Linked DNA regions of Homo sapiens: region 2 is linked to region 1. Evidence: promoter capture Hi-C in 16 types of primary human blood cells and fetal thymus (Javierre and others, 2016). All regions are on one chromosome and are shown on one strand. The core of a region is centred on a gene start or on the middle of the fragment in contact, and the rest is flanking DNA. Distances in the headings are between cores, read along the strand shown.

Region 1 (4,246 bases), core at 156-2,655:
TCCTTACAAGGGTAATACATTTCACTGTGGAGAATTTGGAAAACAAGGGCACAACGAATAAAATAAAAATCACCCAAAGATAAGCTCAGAGAGATCAATACTATTTCTTTTCTTTTCCTTTCCTTTCCTTTCCTTTCCTTTCTTTTTCTTTTTCTTTCTCTTTCTCTCTCTCTTTCTCTCTCTCTCTCTCCCTCTCTCTCTCTCTTCTCTTTTTTTCTTTTTCTTTTTCTTTTTTGAGACAGAGTCTCACTCTGTTGCCCAGGCTGGAGAGTGGCCTGATCTTGGCTCATTGCAACCTCCACCTCCCAGGTTTAAGAGATTCTCCTGCCTCAGCCTCCTGAGTAGCTGGGATTACAGGTACCCGCCACCACGCTCGGCTAATTTTTGTATTTTCAGTAGAGACAGGTTTCCCCACATTGACCAGGTTGGTCTCGAACTCCTGACTTCAGGCGATCCACCCGCCTCAGCCTCCCAAAGTGCTGGGGTTGTAGGCGTGAGCCACCGTACCTGGCTTTGTGTGTTTTTCTAAAGTGATTTTAACATCCTGCCTCAACTTCTATCCCCTACTTTCACCTTCCCTTCCTGGGTTCATATTCCTACTAAATTCTTATATTAACAAATAAATTCATGAAGTCTCAGTTTCCCTTCATTGCTTTAATAATCTCCAGTGGATTAGCATAACATGCCATTACAAATATTTTAAAATCCCTTAGCTATCTAGCCAGTCTCTGATTGTTGAAATTTGTTTCTAATTTTCTGGAAATATGGACAGGGCTGAAAGAACGTCCTTGGACATAAAATTTTCATCCATTATCCCCAACTATTTCTTTAGGATAAATCTCTAGCAGTAAATTAACTGGGTGAAAACTTCAGGGCATTGGATATGCAAACAACTCTGCTCTAAAAATGCATCTTCTTGACTACTGGAGCCATTTTTTTTTTCACGAGTTGATTGGTCCTTTGTATTTGTTCTTCGTGAACGTTCAGCCTATGATTTTAAATATTTTCTAATGAGTTCTGCTTTGAGAAGATTTAAAGAGGAGGAGGGCTCAAGAAATCGAGGCCACTTCTGAGTTGCTCACAGTCAAGTAACGGAATCTGACTTGATCTCACCTCAGATCCCCTCTCGGGCCTCAGTTTTGTCACCTGTTGAATGGGAGGTGGCGGGATGCTTACGAAACCCACCCCAAGCCCCGTCTAACCCTGCGGGCGCGAGGCAGAAACTAACAACGCCCAGCAAGGTGTTGCCTCACTGACCCAAGCAGTCTGCGCCCACGTGGCACCTTCTCCTTTCCCAGGTTTTCCTCAGGCCTCTGCCTTGGGCCTCCCCACCCCACGGGGTTACCTTTACCTGCCGGGAGATCCCGCCGAGTAGCTAGCTGCTCCGCAAACCCAGCAGACGAACCCCCAGTCCCTTGTTGTGCCTCGTTGCTAGGCGACGCCACGCCGCGCCGCGCCTGCGCCCTGGGAACGCTCGGGGCTGCTAGGGCGCCCATTGTCCCGCCGAGGGCAGCGGCCAGTGCGGGAGGAGCCAAGTGCGTCCGCGATTACCTGAATCCAGTGCTTTAGGGGAGAATGGAAACTGGGGGTGGAAGCTGTAAATCAAGAGGCAGTTCAGCCTCAGTTTCTGGCCCAAGGACTGGCTGTGGGTTCAAATACGCAAATACTATTGCATTCTTCCAAATAGAGGCGTCAGCCGGAATCTCTATGCAGATGAAACCCACATCAGCCACCTCCTGCCCAGGCTCCGTTAAGCTGCAGACCTGCACTGCCACATCTCTTTGCACTAGGATGTCCAATCCGTTTCCACAGAACTTCTCATGGCCCTTCAAAGCCCCGTTCTCTTCCTCTTTCTTTCCTCTTCCTGCCATTCTTCCAATTGCCTAGACTCAGAAGGAGCTTCAATTTCCCTTCTTCCTCCCATGCCCCCCAACCACAGTCATCACTTCAGCCACTTCTTGGCGGCTTACATTTTGTTTCCTGCTTGTTCCCTTTCTCATATCCTTATTGTCACTTCAATCCAGCTCGTCATTTTTTGGCCTTCTGGCTGAGAAATTCAGTTGCTCTCTGCTTACAGTTCTTTCTACGTATCACAGGCAAATCGGCCATCCAGAAATCATCGTTCCAGTCTTGTCACTTCCCTACTCAAATGTCAGCGGCTTCCTAAGATAAATTTTCAACACATTGGCCTGGAATTTAAGACCGTCTGCTCCATCTCTACTCCATCTGTGCAACCACATTTTCAACCGATCTCCACCATCCAAGCTCCAGCCAAACTTACTGTTCCCGAAATTTTCCACACTTTTCTCTAGATTTTCTTGCTTATCTGTTCATCACTTCATTTTTCAACAAATATTTATAAAGTAGCTTCTATTTCCCAGGTCATGTGCAATACCTGAAATATTCTCTCATTTCCACTTAATTAAGCCCAGCTCAAATGCCATCTTCATAAAATATTTTTTGATTGCCTTTAGCAAAAAGTCTCTCCCTCTCCTCTTAGACTTTGCAAATTCCGTCTCCTACCGGCCCCTGTTGGTCTCCCAGTCCTAAGAATGATAGATGCTTCTTATAATTGCTACTTTTATATATCTTATGTTCTCTTCTCACCATTTAAATTGCCTGATAAACAGCTTTATAACAATTATTTGTATTCAGTTTTCCATGGTCAAATATCCGGTGTGACTTCTGTATAGAAAAGATCTTAAGTAATGGTCATGAAAGTAGGAAAAGGATTAAGACCAAGTAGCATCAAGGAAACTAAGGAGGGAGTTTCAAGAATATAAGCGTCATCAAGTGTTATATGATTGGACCTTGAATAATATACACCTGTATTTTCAGCCTCTCCCTGTCTTCCACGTTTTTTCCTGTTGGTATATAATTATGTTGAAGCCCCTCCCATGCCTCATCTAAAAAGCAAAAACAAATAAAATCCCTTTGATGTTGTTGTTCCTTCTAACTATTATCCTATTGTTTTCTTTCTCTTCTTGGTCATGACTTTTCAAAAAAAGTAGCCAGCATTAGATACTTACATATTTTTAACTTCCTATTCACTCTTCAGACTATAGTGACCTGTTTTCATCCCAGCACTAAAACTATCCATATCCATTGGATGCTTCTTAGCCCTCATCTTGCTTGACATTGCTGCTGTATATAATACTCAATGACACCTCATTCTTGAAACTCTTTTCTTGGTTTCCTTGGTACTACTTGCTCTTGATCTTCCTCCTACTTTCTTTTATGACCATCATTTAAGATCTTTTCTATACAACAGGGTCTATCTATGTTGCCCAGGCTTGTCTTGAATTCCTGGCCTCAAGGAATCCTCCTGACTCAGCCTCCTGAGTAGCTGGGATTTTATAGGGATATATGCCCTATTGTGGTTTTTTTACAGAATCTTAAATGTTGAAATTTCCCAGGGATCTGTCCCTTGTTCTCTTTTCACACTATATGCTTTTCTAGGTGATCTTATTTATATTTGTGACTTCAACTATTGCACATATGTAGCTCCTCATCAGACTCCGGTACTGAACTCTAGACCCATATATCCTACTTGCTACACAGTTCCACCTGGATACCCACAGGCACTTCAGTCATCAACACTACCCACCTAAACTCATCATTTTCCCAGTATAGACATGTTTTTCCATTTATCTAGGGGTACCAACAGGTGTTCTACCCAAACAGACCACCAAGTCTGACAGGCATCCTAGACTTATTCTCCTTTTCATGCAGTTAATTATTGGATTCCCCTAAAAGTTTCTTGAATTTATTCTCACCTTCCAATTCCCATAGCCCAAGTACAGAAAGTCACTGTCCTTTACCTGAATTCATCTAACAAGCCTTCTGGCAGGTCTTCCATCCTCTAGACTCATCCTAGCTTCAATTCATCTTCTCCAAGACAATCAAAGTAATCATTCTAAGATGCAAATTTAATTTGTCTGTGTCCTTGCTGGCTCCAATAGCTCTAACACACAAATGATGAAATGCAACAAGATTCTTAAATTGACACTCAAGATCTTTCTTGTTCTGACTGACTGCTTCCTACTACAATAGCTTCTGTCATTGTTCAAAAATATAGCAAACTGCTCAGCATTCTCCAAGTACACCATGACATTTTGAGCCCTTCACTCCCCTAATCAGCCTGAAAACCACTTATTCATCTTTCAAATTTTAACTTAGTCATCATTTCCTCCAAAAAGTCTTTATTAGCTTCTTCAGACAGAGGGAAGCATTTCTCATTCGTTGC
Region 2 (4,478 bases), core at 596-3,095, 900 kb after region 1:
GCCTTCAGGTATTTTTTTAAATAGCAATGCGGAAACAGACTAAAATGGAAAATTGGTACCAAGGAATGGGGCATTGCTATAAAGATATCTGAAAATGTGGAAGTGACTTTGGAACTTGGTAACAAGCAGACATTGGAATCTAAATCTCCTACCTCCAGAATCTTGAGTAATAAATAAGTAAATTAATTTCTCTCTAATCTGTTTCTTATACACAGCAAAACATATAATCTAATGAATATAAGAATAATACTCAAGAAGCTCACGAACTTGAGAAAATTTTAGAGCAGCAAAAAGTCATTTATTAATTCACTCAACAAATTTGAAACTACTCAGTGTCAGGCACTGTTTTAGACATTGAGGATGCAGCTGTAAACAAGATACATAAAGTCTGCTTTCATGAGCTTACCTTCTAGAAGGGGGAGGCATCCAATCCACAAATAAATATGAAATATAGTGGGAGGTGGTAATATGACCACCAAGTAGGATGAGATCATTTAAGGAGAGTCAGGAAATGCTTTTCTAATAATATTATATTTGGGCAGTGACGTGAGGGAACTAGTAAAATTGAAACTACTTTGTTATCTGGGAGAAGAACATTCCAGACAGACATACCAACAAATATTAAGTGGGAAGTGGGAGCAGGATTGACAGTTTTGAAGGACAACGATGCCACTCTGGCTGGGGCTGAGGGAGCAAGGGGAAGAGTGTAGGAGACCAGAGGGCTTAGATGGTAAGGACCTGGGATTTTCCTCTGCATGAATGATTAGAGGGTTTGGGGAAGAGGAATGAAGCAATCTGAGTTATATTTTAGAAGCATTTCTGCAGAGATTAGGTGAGAGGAGGCAAGGGTGGAACCAGAAAGACCAGATGAGAGTTGATGGTGGCATGGATTAGGGTGATGGTTGTGGAGAAATGGTCAGATTCTGGGAAAATTTTGAAGTTAGAGAAGACATGATTTGCTGCTGAATTGAATGGGGGGAAAAGAGAATAGGACTCAGGAATGACTCTAAGATTTGGCCTGATCCATACTGTCTTGATAAATATCCCTCTATGAATTCCAGGGTGCGGATACAGATCTGAGAAAAGGAAAGGCTTTGTACTTCTCATGACACTTGCTGTAGGTTTAACTGCATTCACTATGACCATGTATGTGCTAAACATACATGTATTATTTCATTTAATTTTTACAGCATTCCTATTAGTGGCTGTTATCATCCTCACTTTTATAGATGAGGACGCTGAGGTTTAAACAGGTTGTGTAACTTGCCCAAGGTCATACACCTAGTGAGTGGAAAAGCCAGTATTCAAACTCATATCTGCCTGATACCAAGTCACAGCTTCCAAACCACTCTTCTGTACAGCCTATGATGTTTTTACTCTTCCATCAGTTAGAGCAGGAGCAGACAGACGAAGCCCCACAGGCCAAATCTGGCTCCATCCCTGTTTCTATAGAGCCTGTGAACTAAGAAAAAAAAATTTTTGGAAAAAAAATCAAAACAACATTTTTATAACAGTGGAAATTGATATAAAATTCAAACTTCAGTGTTCACAAATAAAGCTTCGTTGGAACACAGTCATACCTCTTCATTTACTTATTATCTATGGCTGTGTTTGGGCTACCATGGCAGAGTAGATTAGTTTCAACAGAGACTACGTGGTCCACAAAATCTAAAATAGTTAATATCTAGCCCTTTACAGAAAACGTTTGCCAACCCTGGTTTAGAGAATGAACTCTGTTCTAACGTTCATGAAATACCACGTTTGTGAAACATTTCTACGGTAGTTAATATCTCTAAAGTCAGAGAAGGTAATGCTCTGTGAGAGAGAGTTTATTTAGCCAGTTAAGGATTAATTACTCTTGCAGTTTTGTTCTACTGTGAAAGTGCAATACACAATGGGCAGGAACCCAGTGTCAGAGTAACGGCAAATAACCTTTTACCTCTCTCTCTCTCTCTCAAATAGAGACCATTCATATAAGCTATCTATCTCAGAAAATTGTGAGTTCTTGATATTTTGAAATTATTAAAGGATTTGCCTTTAGGAGCTCTTTTTGAAAATGTTCAATTCTCAAATTTCTAGCTTTGAAACTATATCATGCACTGATCTACAAAGGCTAATTGCAATCAAGCTTACTTCTACTGAATGCTGATCGATGGTGAGTAACCACGATAACACTGATCAAGGGACAGCGTTCTATAGTTGAATGAGTCACTCCATTTCTACCAGAAAATAATTACATAAGGTCTAGAAACGTGTCTCTCCCAGTAGAAAGCTTTGTAATGATCTAGTGCGGAGGGAAGTAAAAGTACAAAACAAGATAAGAGCCACATATGAGGGTGTTTAATCTCTGTGCCAAGTACAGAAAGGAACTCTGCTCTATGGTTTTTATCTGTGAATCTAGAAGCAGCTGAGGCGGTGAACCTCAGTGTATGTGTAAATTTCTATCGTTGTTGGCTTTCTCTTCCAATAAAAGCCTTATCTGAATTGAGCTGAAACAGCTTATTTTCATCCATCCCATTTGGGTCCAGTTCCAGAAAGAGTTGAGAAATCTCATCCTTGGAGTAGACTTGAAAAGAGACCCACCTGGATTGTATTTATATGTGCATGGTAATCCCACCTAGACTCCTCTGAGAGCTGGCAGGTTCTCCCCTTCCTTCTGACCATGCCAAGTGACCTCTTACCACACTCAACTATGATAGCTCATATCTAACTTTTCTGTACTGTATTATTATGTATCTACTACATCTGCAACAGATACTTTCTCTGGGACCAAACTTTTGCTTTAAAATGATAGGACCAGTCTCAGAGAGTCACCTATTGTCTGACTCTATTTCCATTGCATTCTTTTTTTAAAAAACACCTTTATTGAGATATAGTTCACGTGCCATGTAATTCACCCATTTAAAGTGTACAATTCAATGGCTTTTAGTATATTCACAGAGGTGCAACCATCACCACAATCAATCTTAGGACATTTTTATTAAGCCCTCCCTTCTAGATCACTTAGCCATCACCAAAAATTCCCCCCATCCCACCCAGCCCATGGCAACTACTAATCTCCTTTCTGTCTCTACAGATTTGTCTATTCTGGACATTTCAAAAAGAAATGGAGTCATCCGTTGTGTGATCCTTTGTGCTTGGCTTCTTTCACGTGGCATATTTTCAAGGTTCATCCATGTTGTGCCATGTGTCAGTACTGTCTTTTAATTGCCAAATGATATTTCATTGAATGATATACTCCATGACACTCTTGAGATGACATTATAGACTTAGAGAACAGATGTTAGGAGTGGTGGTTTGGGGAAGAGTTGACATGACTGGCTATGAAGGAATAAAGAATAACATGAAGGATCGTTGTGATAGAACCATTATGTAACTTAACCGTGGTAAAATTGCATAGAACTAAACACACCTACTTATGCATACACACACACACACACACACACCACACATACACAAGTGAATGTATGCAAATCTGGTAACAACTGAATAAAGTCAATAGTTTGCAGCAGTATAAGTTTTCTGGTTAGGATATTGTACTCTAGTTATGCAAGCTGTTACCATGAAAAGAAACTGAGTAAAAGGTATATGAGATTTCTTTGTATTACTTCCTACAACTGCAGGTGATTTCATAATTTTGTCAAAATAAAAAGTTAAAAAAATAATACTGGGACCTGGACAATAGTTCAAGGATGGCAGAGTAAGAACCTCTGAAAATTTATTTCTCCATAAAAGCAACAAGAACACTGGCAAAAAAAAAAAAACAACTGTCAAATTCAACTTTTCATAACTCTGAAAATTAACCAAAGGCTTGCAAAAATTTGAGTGCTTAGGCAAGAAAAATGGCTGAATCCTGGTAAGAACAGGAGGCTTGATGGCATTTTAACCTACTCTGTCCTCATGCTCCTCTCCCCAGCTCTAGAGTAGCCTTGAAAACAAAGAGAACTGCAATCATGGTGAAAGCTAACAATCTAGAAGCCACTGGAGGGAACAGAATGTTGAAGCCCCATTCCTAGATAATGGTCATTACGTGACCTGTCTGGCAGGTTCCTGGAAAATCTCACTCATAAGACTTGTCTTTATTCGACCCGACTCAGGGAGCACTCACCATGAACAGCATTTTACCCAAAGGTATTTGTCAAAAACAATTAGTGGCAATTATTTAACATTACAGCTGCACGAGGCTTGTGATGATAACAGCTAGGACAAACAACAAGCTGACCAAAAACTTAAAAGGAAATGCGGGAGAATAAGATATTAATAATAAGCTTTGAAAAGCTCTGATATATTCCTGGGAAACTAGAAGGCTACACATATGCACAGGGCTGTGTGCATGCGCATGCCCAGGAAATTGCTGAGATGGTCCTAAACCCTCGCCTCTGGCTAACTATCAGTCTCTGTGCAAGCAGAAAGTGAAATTTGAAGCAGAATTGTAAACTGCCTGTCTGAACATTGGAGGCAAATCCCAATATGCACAC

Evidence for each region. Contacts are between HindIII fragments. The CHiCAGO score rates a contact against its expected background, and 5 or more counts as called.
Region 2: a contact is called between a fragment that was not itself captured here and the fragment with the promoter of ARMC3 in region 1, in 6 of 17 cell types (naive CD8 T cells, endothelial precursors, naive CD4 T cells and 3 more). The highest score is 5.9, in naive CD8 T cells.

What each region holds. Positions count from the first base shown.
Region 1 is chr10:22,925,212-22,929,457 of GRCh38, reverse strand. It overlaps ARMC3 (armadillo repeat containing 3), which reads right to left and starts at 1,405. Exons shown (of 19, transcript NM_173081.5): 1 at 1,352-1,405. The HindIII fragment of the contact is 5,434 bases long and covers 1-4,246 here.
Region 2 is chr10:22,027,438-22,031,915 of GRCh38, reverse strand. No RefSeq gene overlaps it. Among named protein-coding and RNA genes, the nearest start is that of DNAJC1, 26 kb to the right of the region's middle. The HindIII fragment of the contact is 570 bases long and covers 1,561-2,130 here.